2 separate regions of the Homo sapiens genome follow, and region 1 is linked to region 2. The links are contacts of gene promoters, found by promoter capture Hi-C in human tissues and cell types (Jung and others, 2019). All regions are on one chromosome and are shown on one strand. The core of a region is centred on a gene start or on the middle of the fragment in contact, and the rest is flanking DNA. Distances in the headings are between cores, read along the strand shown. Region 1 overlaps ZNF518A (zinc finger protein 518A). Region 2 holds the start of CCNJ (cyclin J).

Region 1 (5,575 bases), core at 1,295-3,794, 120 kb after region 2:
ATAATTTTTTTACTGTGCTAAAATCTGATGGAAATTTTGTTCTCTAGGAAATACAGATTTTAAAGTGTATGTGTTTTTTCAATGCTAGTTAACTCTACAAGATAGATAAAAGTGTGGGATTTTTTTTCTTCCCAAAATCATAGATGATATATTGTTTAAGAAAGGTAACATATACCATAATTTTACTATGGTTATGCTGGCAAGGTGAGCCATAGAGAGGCTTATAGTCTTCAGTACCCTAACAGCAATAAAATTAAAATGCTCTGTTTGTTACATATAGATCTGTTATGAGACATCACCTGCTGTAAATAGCAAGGAGAGAGAAGGAACTTTCCTGCTAATATTCGCAGCACTATAACATTACATTTCAGAATAGCCATATCAGGAAAATAATGTCGAGATATGTACTTCTTGCCTTTAAGTTTTAACAGCCATTTAAAGTAAGCTTTGTGCTCCAGATATTCTAGTTGGAACTTTTTCTGATTTTGTTAACTTAAGTTATTCTGAGGGAGGCAGACCTGCTTAGAGTTTCATTATTGCCATTGCAGAAAATCCAAAACAAAAGCCTGTATCCTTTATTTTTTGTGTGTGGCTTTCCAAAGAGGGCTTTCCAAAATATGATTTTCAGTAGTTCGAGGTTCTTATTACAATTGAAGAGTTAGTTTTAGTTTTGCAGTTGAATTTCTGTGTGAGGAATTTGTTTTATTTTTTCTAGTTTGTCCATCTCCACTGAAATGGGTTTCTTACTATTTGGCAAGTACTTAAAAAACATAATTCAGTTTTCAAAGAATTTATCTTGCTAAGTATTCAGTAACACAAATTGAAATGTAATAGTTTTTTTAATGGAAAATATTTTCATTGGGGGGTTAGCAAATTTTTTCAATAAAGGGTCAGATAAATAAGCTTCGTAGGCCTTCTAGTTTCTGTCCTAACTACTCAATTCTCATAATGCAGAAAAAAACCATAGACAATATGTAAATGAATTAGTGTGGCTATGTTTTAATAAAACAATTTATAAAAACAGGAAGTGGGCTGAATTTGGCCCACCAGACATAGTTTACTGACTGTTGCTTGAATTCCCTAGAGTCTGCTTTCAGAATGGGATTTTTATTTAAAAAAACAAGCTTGATAAGTTTCGTGATGTACCTCACCTGTGTAAAAGAGCTACAAAGTACGAACTAAAATATGTATATAAAGTTTCTAGTATAGATGTATTTGTATAACAGTGAAGAGACTGTAAATGTAATGAAAATGGTTAGTGGGTAAAATAGGTCATTTGTGTGCTAAGAGTAGTGCAACTTATGAAGGGATTAAAAATGAGATAGAGCAGAAATGCTGTGAGAATTTATGTCCAGGTTAGATGGGAAAAGGACTTAGATATTCTTTCAGTGATTTGAAATAGCTGTTAAGAAAAAGTAATAGAAGTTCTTGGGGTGGGAGAAAATGGAGGTGAATTAAAAACAGAATATTATATACTAATTCCATACAGCTTATCTTGATTTTTTAAAAATAAGATTCCTTTTCACCATTGACATCTACTTCCTTCCTTAACTTTCTTAACAGAGCCATTTGGGGCGTTGGCTCTGTTCTTTGCCTTAGCAACTTGTTAGGATCCTTGCTCTCAGCATACTACCTTGACCCATTGGGGATCTCATCTAGCAAAACTTACTGGGGGGATTTTTCAGGGTGGTATTTGTTGCTAGTTAGCAGAGTATGGCATTAGTGGAAACTTTTTCCTGTAATGGAGAGTTGAAATGGTTGAGTTTGATGTTTATTAATTTATGTATGCCTCTCTTAATAACTGGAGAATTGAGAAGTAATTAGTATCTTGGAGGAAGTATTTCATGAAGTCATCTTTGAGGTGCTTTTTGACTAGTTTAACAAAGCTTCTGTTAATGCCTCCAAATTTAGGAATCTTTTTAAAACGAGAATAATTGTTACAAGAGTGGAAACTTTCAAGTAAATAGTGTGGAAAAAATATAATGTACATCAATTTTAGAAGTCATGAATTTAGGAGATGCCAAGAATGTGCTTAATTTAAATACTTTTTCCTAGTAAAGACATTTCTAATGTGTTAAAATAAGAATTTTTCCATATACTTCAAAGTGCTTAAACCAAAAGTAAGGGTTATGTTTATGTGGCAACTCATGAAATACATCTTTCAATTAAGGAGTGAAATGTTGCCTGCGATCATCAATTACATCATAAGCTATTGCTAATGTCAAAGAATAGGAAAGCAAAATGAAAGTTAAATTTGGGAGAGAGACCAAAATACTCTTGTAGATGACTTGCTTTTAATATCTTGGAAGTTTAAAGGAGTACACTGAAAATTAGTTACTTTCCTGAACAATTAACAGTAATCAACTGGGGAACAATAAAAGAAGACCCATTTATTTATTTTTCGAGATGGAGTCTCACTCTGTTCCCCAGGCTGGAGTGCAGTGGCACAGTCTTGGCTCACTGCAGCCTCTGCCTCCCGGGTTCAAGTACCGCTCCTGTAGTGGGATTACAGGTGCCCACCACGATACCCAGCTAATTTTCATATTTTTAGTAGCGATGGGGTTTCACCATGTTGGCTAGGCTGGTCTTAAACTCCTGACCTCAAGTGATTCACCTGCCTTGGCCTCCCAAAGTCTGGGATTATAGGCATGAGCCACCATGCCCAGCCAGTAAGACCCGTCTATAATAAGAGGCACAAAATAATACAAGCCTGCCAAAAAACAACAACAACCAAAAAAAAAAAAAAAAAAACAGACACCAAACCAAACCTGTAAGATATAACTGGGAGATACATAGTATTTCTGAGTGGAAGACTAAATATACCTGCTTAGCAGATTACATTTTTAGAACTTTGTCCCCCACCCCTACCCCCATTACCCTCTTCCTCTAACAGAGCTGCTTTACAGGGAGGATTGTGGTTTGGGCATTCACTGAAGAGCTGATTTACCATTCTTTCTATCCTCCAGCTGTTCCATAGCATAAAGGTACAGAGGTTCTGTTCAGTGGAGGGTTGGAGTAAGCTTCAAAAACTGACAACACATTATTACAAGAGGCCTGAATTAGGGTTTTTCAGAGATACAGAACCAATATGAGGGCATGTCTTGAGGGAATTAGGTTATGTAATTATGGAGGCTAGGAAGTCCCACACTAGGCTGTCTGCAAGCTAGAGACGTAGTGATGGTGGTAGCATGACTCAGTCGAAGTCCAGAAGCCTCAGAACCAGGAAAACTGGTGGTGTAACTCTCAGACTGAGATAGAAGGCCTGAGAACCAAGGGGCCACGGGTGTAAGTCCTCGAATCCAAAGGCCTGAAACCCTGGAGTTCTGATGTCCAAGGGCATGAAAATAAAGCTGTCTCAGCTCCTGGGGTATGGCGTTAGGCGTGGGGGGAGGAAGTTAGTGGAGAGAGAATTAGCTTTTTCTCTTTTCCTTCTGTCCAGGCTCCTAGCTGTTTGGATTGTGCGTCAATCACATTGTGGGCAAATCTTCCCCATTCAGTGTAATGGCTCACATACCAGTCTCTGAAAACACCCTCACAGACACATTCAGAAATAATGTTTTACCAGTTGTCTAGGTATTCCTTAATGCATTCAAGTTGACACTGAAAATTAACTGTCACAGGGCCTGACTTTATTTGTAACAGACTTCAGAGTATTGTAGAAAACAGTAGAGCAATCAGTAACAGTGGAGGTTCAACAGTTGCCAGGTCATTCCAATAGATAACCAGAAGCTTAAAGAAAGGATCAGGGAGGCCAGGCACGGTGGCTCAGTCTGTAATCCCAGCACTCTGGGAGGCCGAGACGGGCGGATCACAAGGTCAGGAGATCGAGACCATCCTGGCTAACACGGTGAAACTGCGTCCCTCCTAAAAATACAAAAAAATAGCCAGGCATGGCAGCGTGCACCTGTAGTCCCACTACTCGAGAGTCTGAGGCAAGAGGATGGTGTGAACCCGGGAGGCGGAACTTGCAGTGAGCCGAGATCGCACCGCTGCACTCCAGCCTAGGCGACAGAGCGAGACTCTGTCTCAAAAAGAAAGAAAGGATCAGGGAAAGAGACAACCTAGATAAAACTACAGACATCCCTTGTGATCAGGAAGACTGTGCATGCTGAAGGCTGCCATCTCAGAGGACTGACCAGAGAGAACTTCTAAACTACAAGTTCCTGGCCAAATGAAGGGCAAACTTGTAAACTCCTTAAGTAGTGAAAGCAGTCTTCAAGCCATACATTAATTAGTCAAGCCAAGTCACTAAAGGAAGATGATCAGTATGCAGAGATCTGTGTTACCTAAAATGTCCAGTTTCAACACAAAAATTGAGATATGCAAAGAAACAGAAAAGTATGTGTCCTATATGACAGAGAAATGTAGGAAATATAAAGTTTTGAGGGATACCAAATTTAGGATAAATGCTAAGCAGCTGTTACAAATGTATGTTCAAAAGGCTGAGTGCAGTGGTTCATGCCTGTAATGCCAGCAGTTTGGGAGGCTGAGGTGGGTGGATCACTTGAGGCCAGGAGTTTGAGACCAGCCTGGCCAAAATGGTGAAACCCCGTCTCTACTAAAAATAAATTGGCCAAGCGTGGTGGGCGCCTGTAGTCCCAGCTACTCAGGAGGCTGAGGCAGGAGAATCGCTTGAACTCAGGAGGCAGAGGTTGCAGTGAGCCGAGATTGCGCCATTGCTGTCCAGCCTGGGAGGCAGCGAGACTCCACCTCAAAATAAATAAGTAAACCCAAAGAACTAAAGGAAGCCAGATGTGAAGAATTAAGGAAAGTATTCTAATGTCTCACCAAGTAGAGAACATAGAGATAGAAATTTTTTTTAAAGAACTAAATGAAAATTCTGGAGTTGAAAAGTACAATAACTACAATTTTAAAAGTTACTAGAAAGGCTCAATACTAGATTTGAGATGGCAGAAGAAAGAATCAGCAAACCTGCAGATTGATAGAGGATATGCAATCTGAAACAAAAAGTTTGAAGAAAAAGTGTTCTTCACACTATGTACACAAAAATTAACTCAAAATGGATCATAGACCTAAATACAAGCAAAAACTGTAAAACTTACAAAAAATGTAAGTATTTGTGATAATTCTCTAGGCAAAGCTTTCATAGCTGTGACACCAAAAACAAAAAAGTGCAATAGATAATTTGTTTTAAAAGACAGCGTTTTTATTACAGGAGGTTGTAAAACAAGTCTGTTTTATCTGTTTCAGATTAATCTCAACTTAATTTCAGTAATGAAAAATTTGCTCTATATGCCTTCATTCTGCCCATGCTGTTATTGTCACAAACTACATCTTTATAATAATTATATGTCCATCAACATAGTTTTATAATTACGCAGTTTTAAAAATCAGGAGGGAAGAACAAGAGTTACGAACAGATATACATTGTCTTGCTGCTCCAAAATCTGCAATGTAAAAGGCCCCATGCACAAGGGCAATGTGCTAATTCTGTTGGAGTCATGAGTGAGAGGCCCAGAGGTTGCACCTCACTTGGCTGCTCACTGGGTCTTGGATGCAGGGTTCAACCACTTGGCCAGTGGGAATGGTGTGCTACGATCTGCTCCTTTATTTT
Region 2 (5,110 bases), core at 228-2,727:
AAATACAGTCTACTTCTTATACTAATGATTATAGTCTGTGCCCCATTTTTCTGAAAGTGTTCTTAAATAGGCCCTGGACAGTTATTTAGAAGCCAAATTATTATAAAGTTGTTTAATAGTCATGAAATGGAACCCAAGGATGTAGACACTATTTAAATGCCATTAAAAATGGCATGAAGCTTTTAGCCTGATGTGTCTACCTTCACTCTAGAGGACCCTGCAACTGAGAGACAGGCCAGGGCAGCCTTCTCCCTGGACTATGTCGGGTTAGGCCGGGATCTGCCAACTTCAGCTTCTGAGTTTCCCTTTTCTTGCCTTTGGTTCCTGCGGGCCTGCTCTCCTGGGTATAAGCATCGTCTATGGATAGGGTACGGCTCATATACATGTCTGCTGATGATCTTCAAATGAAGATGCCACCCAGAATCACATAAAATGTATTTATCACTTTGTAGTAGTTCTTTATCATCATGTATCTTTTTGGACAAAGGATTCAAAGTAAAAGGGGTGAAGTTTTAAAAATATTTACGTTTTACTATTAAGAGATTGATCTCCAGTCTCAGAAAAGTGGACAGTCTCACTGTCCTAGGGTTACCATCCACCTCTTTTGTGATAATCCACCAAAGAGGTTAAAATACAATTGATTAGGTTTCCTCTAATCACATTTCAGCCCCCATATCACCTCAATTGACGTCGGAGTGTTCTCACAGTTTTGCAGTTTCCTGATTTACGAGCACAGATGGTTAATTACATCCACCATGGGTTTGACAAGCAAGGTTACTAGAAGTAATCTTAAATGTCTTCATTCAAAGCTCTTGGGAATCCCTACAGCAACGAAAATAAGGAGGGGGAAGAGATTAATTAGGTTTCTAGAAGAAAGGTGGAGTTTGAGGTGGAACTTAAAAAAAGAGCATAATTTCACAGGAAAAAAAAAACGCTTCAGGGGCTGCAGAAACAGCTAAAGCACATTTGGAGGGCCTGATGATCCACGGAGCAGCCCCTGGGATGGAAGCGGTTGGTGCAACGTGAAGTAAGGTAAACCGAATCCATGCCGTGAAGACTTTTAAACGCCAAACTGAGGCGTCGGAACTTTGCTCCGCGGGCATCGAGGAGCCATCGAAGGTTCTCAGCAGGTGAGTGGCCTAACTGGATTGGTCACTGCAGTGATCCACCTTACAATTTCTCCGGCGCTCTCTGCCGACCTCAGCCGGCGATCAGGCCGGCTTCGCAGTAGGTGGCGGCTGAGCGCCCCGGCAACCGAAGCGCCAGGCCAGCCCAGGCCACGCCGCGCCGTGCGGGATGCTGACCGTACCCAGGCGGGAGCCGCCGCGCCGCCGCCTGGCGCTGCACCTGGGCCCGGCCCGGCCGCCAATTGGACGGCTCGGGGCGACCCCGCTGTATCGCGAGACGAGATTGGCAGCGGCGGGGCCTCAAGTGCCCCCGCGCTGGCTTTGTATGCGGAGCCGCCTGCCGGTCCTTTAACAATGGGCGGCGCGAGCGTCCAGGCGCTGGGCTCTAGCTGAGGCCGGCGCTTAGCGGCCCACTGTCCGCAGCATGAGCGGGGCCGGCGTCCGCCGCACGACGGCGGGGCTGGGGCTGTGAGGGCCGCGGTTCCGGGTAAGGGAGCCAGCGTGGGGCCGGGCGGCCCGGCAGGCCTGGGGTAGGCGTGGGGCAGCGGACCCTCCCGGGGTGAGGCGCAGAGCCTGGCTGGCCCGGCCTTTTGTTCCCCTTTCTGAGGCCGCGCGGAACGTGCGTTTCTCGGGGCTCCCGGGGAGGAGCAGGCTCCCGACGTCCATGCGGAGACCCGCGGCCAGGCAGACGCTCACCCCCGGGCTTTGCCATGGGAGCGTTTCCCCTCAGCGGGGCTATGAGCGTGTCACCTCTCCCCGCTCCTCAGGGAGGGCGGGAGAACTCCAGCCCCGGACGCAGGGAGCCCCAGCCGGGCCTCCCCCAGCTCTTCCCGAGCTCGCACCTGGCTCCGCGCTTTGGCAACTCAGGGCCCGAGTGGATCCCCTTTTGCCCGACACATAGTCGAGCAGTGAGTCTCAGAGTCCTTCGGCTCTTCCTGCGGGGGCAGACCCGGCTTCGCGTGTGGCGTTGGGGGAAACGACTCGGGTCGGGCTGGGTTGAGGAAGAGTCAAGTGAAGATGAGCAGCCACACCGGGTGGCCTGAGGTCACACCCCCCGGGGAGGGGGCGCAGAGGGTCGCGGGGGAGCCGGCAGTGACCGCGCCTGGGGTGTGTCTTACAGACTCGAGTTGCCGCGTCGGGCTGGGCGCGCCGCCGGGTCCCATGGAGCTGGAGGGGCAGTGGTGGCGAGGACAGCTGGCCGCCGATATTCACCAAGCGCTTCGCTACAAGGTAACTCCGAGGCCCGGCCTGCCTTCTCCTTCTGTGTGTCGCGCCAGTTGTTCTGAATCTCGGCTCTCTAGAAGGTCTAGTCAGGTTCTTTACTCACTATCTTCCGGGCCAGAAAAGGCGAGTTTGCTCATTTGCTCAAGGTTAATTAACTTCTTGGCTCCTTCTCTGGGATGTATCAAAAGAACCTGCAACCTGAATGAGTAGGGAGATGGTAGTTGGGCCAGGGAAGGTGGAAAGGGGCGTTCTGGCTTCCAGGTGGGTCATGAATTTGATCTTGTATTTTAAAAGATATATACACTGAATTTTTGTTGGGCAGAACAGCCCTCTTTGTTCGAGAGTTGCCGTTGCATGCAGCCAGTTTAAGTCGCTTTTGTACATAAATTCCTCAGCCTTTCCGCTAACTTGCCGTGAGACGTGGACAAGTGAAATTTCTGTTTCTTGATTTCCTCATCTGTAAAATGAGGAATAATGAGTGTGCCTTATGATTCTGGCGATTGTGAAACTTAAGTTAGTACCGTACATGTGCTTAGAAACTGCTCTTGGTATATAGTAAGCACTAAGTGATAACTTCTTATCACTTACCCCTCAGGATTTGGGCTGTTCAAAAGCCCTAAAGTGGAGGGAGTTGGCTGCCCCTTCCTGCTGATATCAAAGGCAGAAAGTAGACTTAATAGATATTGGAAAAAAATACTTTTCCAACACAAAGCAAAGTCTGTGTATTGTTGCTATTAAGTAACGGTTTTACTCTGCATGTGGCAAGGCAGATTAATGAGACATTTCTGCCTCTTCGATAACCAAAAGAGAGACCAGATCCAAAATGATCTCTAGCTTAACTCAGTTTCACCTTGGATAAAGAAAGCCATTTGTTAAATGTAGAAAATTGAGAAAGAAGCAAAACAGCTGACTTTCAATAAAAAGGATTCTGACTCTTGGGGTTGAGATCCTGGAATGATAATGAACTTTTATCTTGAGTTTCTGACCAGGTCAAGTAGATTGGAAAACCTAATTCTGACTTAAATTGTTACCCTTTTCTAGGCCTGAGATTTCTAAATGCTACTTAACTAATTCTGACATTCAGTCTCTTAGATTCACTAAAATACAGTTCAGCCCCCTAGGAGATGGTTTATACCACATAAAAATTCTAACTAATGGGATCTCTGGAGTGTTAGTTAGGAAAGAGTTGCAGTTTCTTGGAAAATTGTCCAGATACACTTTTGATCTTTTTTTTTTTTGGCAGATGTCATCTTTCAATGTGAAATGTTTTCTTTTTTAAAAAAATTAATATAGTTGCACATATTTTGAAAAGTGTTTTAAGTGTCAGCCTTTTTATCCCTCTGGTATGTAGTGAAATTAATTAGTTGATATTAAGAGTACTTTTTTTTTGAGTTGGAGTTTCACCTGACCTCAGGTGATCCACCTGCCTCGGCCTCCTAAAGTGCTGGGATTACAGGCATGAGCCACTGCGCCCAGCCAAGAGTATATTTTTTAATTGGCATGAAACTTAAAAGGTTTTTCTTGGTGATTTCCATACTTTTCAATCATTTTATGTGTAGATCATTTTAATTCGTGAGTGATTATCTGCATTTTGTCAATTGAGTTTGGACATGGGTTCTTTGTTTTTTTGTTTTTTCTCCTAGATTTAGATTTGTTGAAGGCTTTTGTGGATTAGTTTCTGGAGCATCCAAGGCATAAGACCCAACCTTATACTCACTCAAGTTGCTTATGAACTATCAGAGGACAAGGTAGCACAGGGTGTGAAGGAATGCCACTGAAAGTTTTATTGGGCCACCTATGGCCTACTGCCCTGGGTTGTCTTTATGTTTAAGCATTATGCAAACCATGGTTCTTACTGGCAACACTTTATACAAGAATTTACATTAATCTGTAAAACTTAAACTTGTGGAACTGGAGAGACCACTGTTTGTAATACACTGAAGGAAACTTAAAATGGACTTTTCTCCTAGAAAAGACGTGGTAATTCCAGGCTATTAATTGGTGATTCAGTCGGATAGTCATCTGTTTTTCTTCAACATGTTGATCATTTATGACATACATGATATCATGCCAGGTGTTAGAGCAATAACAGTGAACGAGACATGATCCTTGCCTTCATAGTCTAACCTTATCTATAATTTAGAGCATCCACATTTAGGTCTTCCTTTGGGCAGTTGCCATTGAGATACTGCAGAAGGTATTCTATGTTTAGGCCCTAGGTTTGTGGAGAAATATTTGGTGTGACTAGCATTGTGTTTACTAGGGAAGAGTGAAAATGACAATGAATGGAAATCATGCCAACTATCCACTCCCTCAAAAAACCCCTACAAAGCAGCTGTCACCTTACACCCTTTTGTCTCCTTTCTTCTCATTATTTTGCTGTGTATAGTTAGTGTCATAGGCTGTTTGGGAAAGTGTTTTTAGGAGCCTTAATGACAAATGGGAACAATTCTAGCTTTGTGAGAAACATTAAGAAAGTGAAGTCCATCAGTGTTTTCCAGGTGTTTCCAGGGAGTCTTTAAGACCATGTTCAGGCCACTTTTTGGGAAAACCTGCTCTGGTTTTGCCTTTTTTCCCCAACTCCCTAATCCCTGAGCTAAGTTAGATTTTCTTCCTAGGTGTTGCCATAATAACCTGTGGTGACTATATTGTGTGATAAGCTCTGTATTTGATTCACCTGCTAGAGATAGGCTTGAGACTGTTTTTCCAGCTTTTATGCCTGGGTTAGTATAGTGTCTGCTGCATGGGAGATGCTCAAT

The links. The method cuts DNA at HindIII sites, captures the fragments that hold promoters and counts their contacts. A contact is called where the count stands out against the background at its distance.
Region 1: a contact is called between a fragment that was not itself captured here and the fragment with the promoter of CCNJ in region 2, in 2 of the 25 tissues and cell types used here (heart right ventricle and spleen).

The regions. Positions count from the first base shown.
Region 1 is chr10:96,162,739-96,168,313 of GRCh38, forward strand. ZNF518A (zinc finger protein 518A) reads left to right here. Exons shown (of 6, transcript NM_001330736.2): 6 at 1-1,021. Among named protein-coding and RNA genes, the nearest start is that of ZNF518A, 35 kb to the left of the region's middle. The HindIII fragment of the contact is 3,741 bases long and covers 675-4,415 here.
Region 2 is chr10:96,042,106-96,047,215 of GRCh38, forward strand. It overlaps CCNJ (cyclin J), which reads left to right and starts at 1,478. Exons shown (of 6, transcript NM_001134375.2): 1 at 1,478-1,614; 2 at 2,248-2,357. The coding sequence starts at 2,289. The region is part of intron 2 of ENTPD1-AS1 (ENTPD1 antisense RNA 1); the gene reads right to left. RefSeq lists silencers at 867-1,061, 1,189-1,758. The HindIII fragment of the contact is 11,661 bases long and covers 1-5,110 here.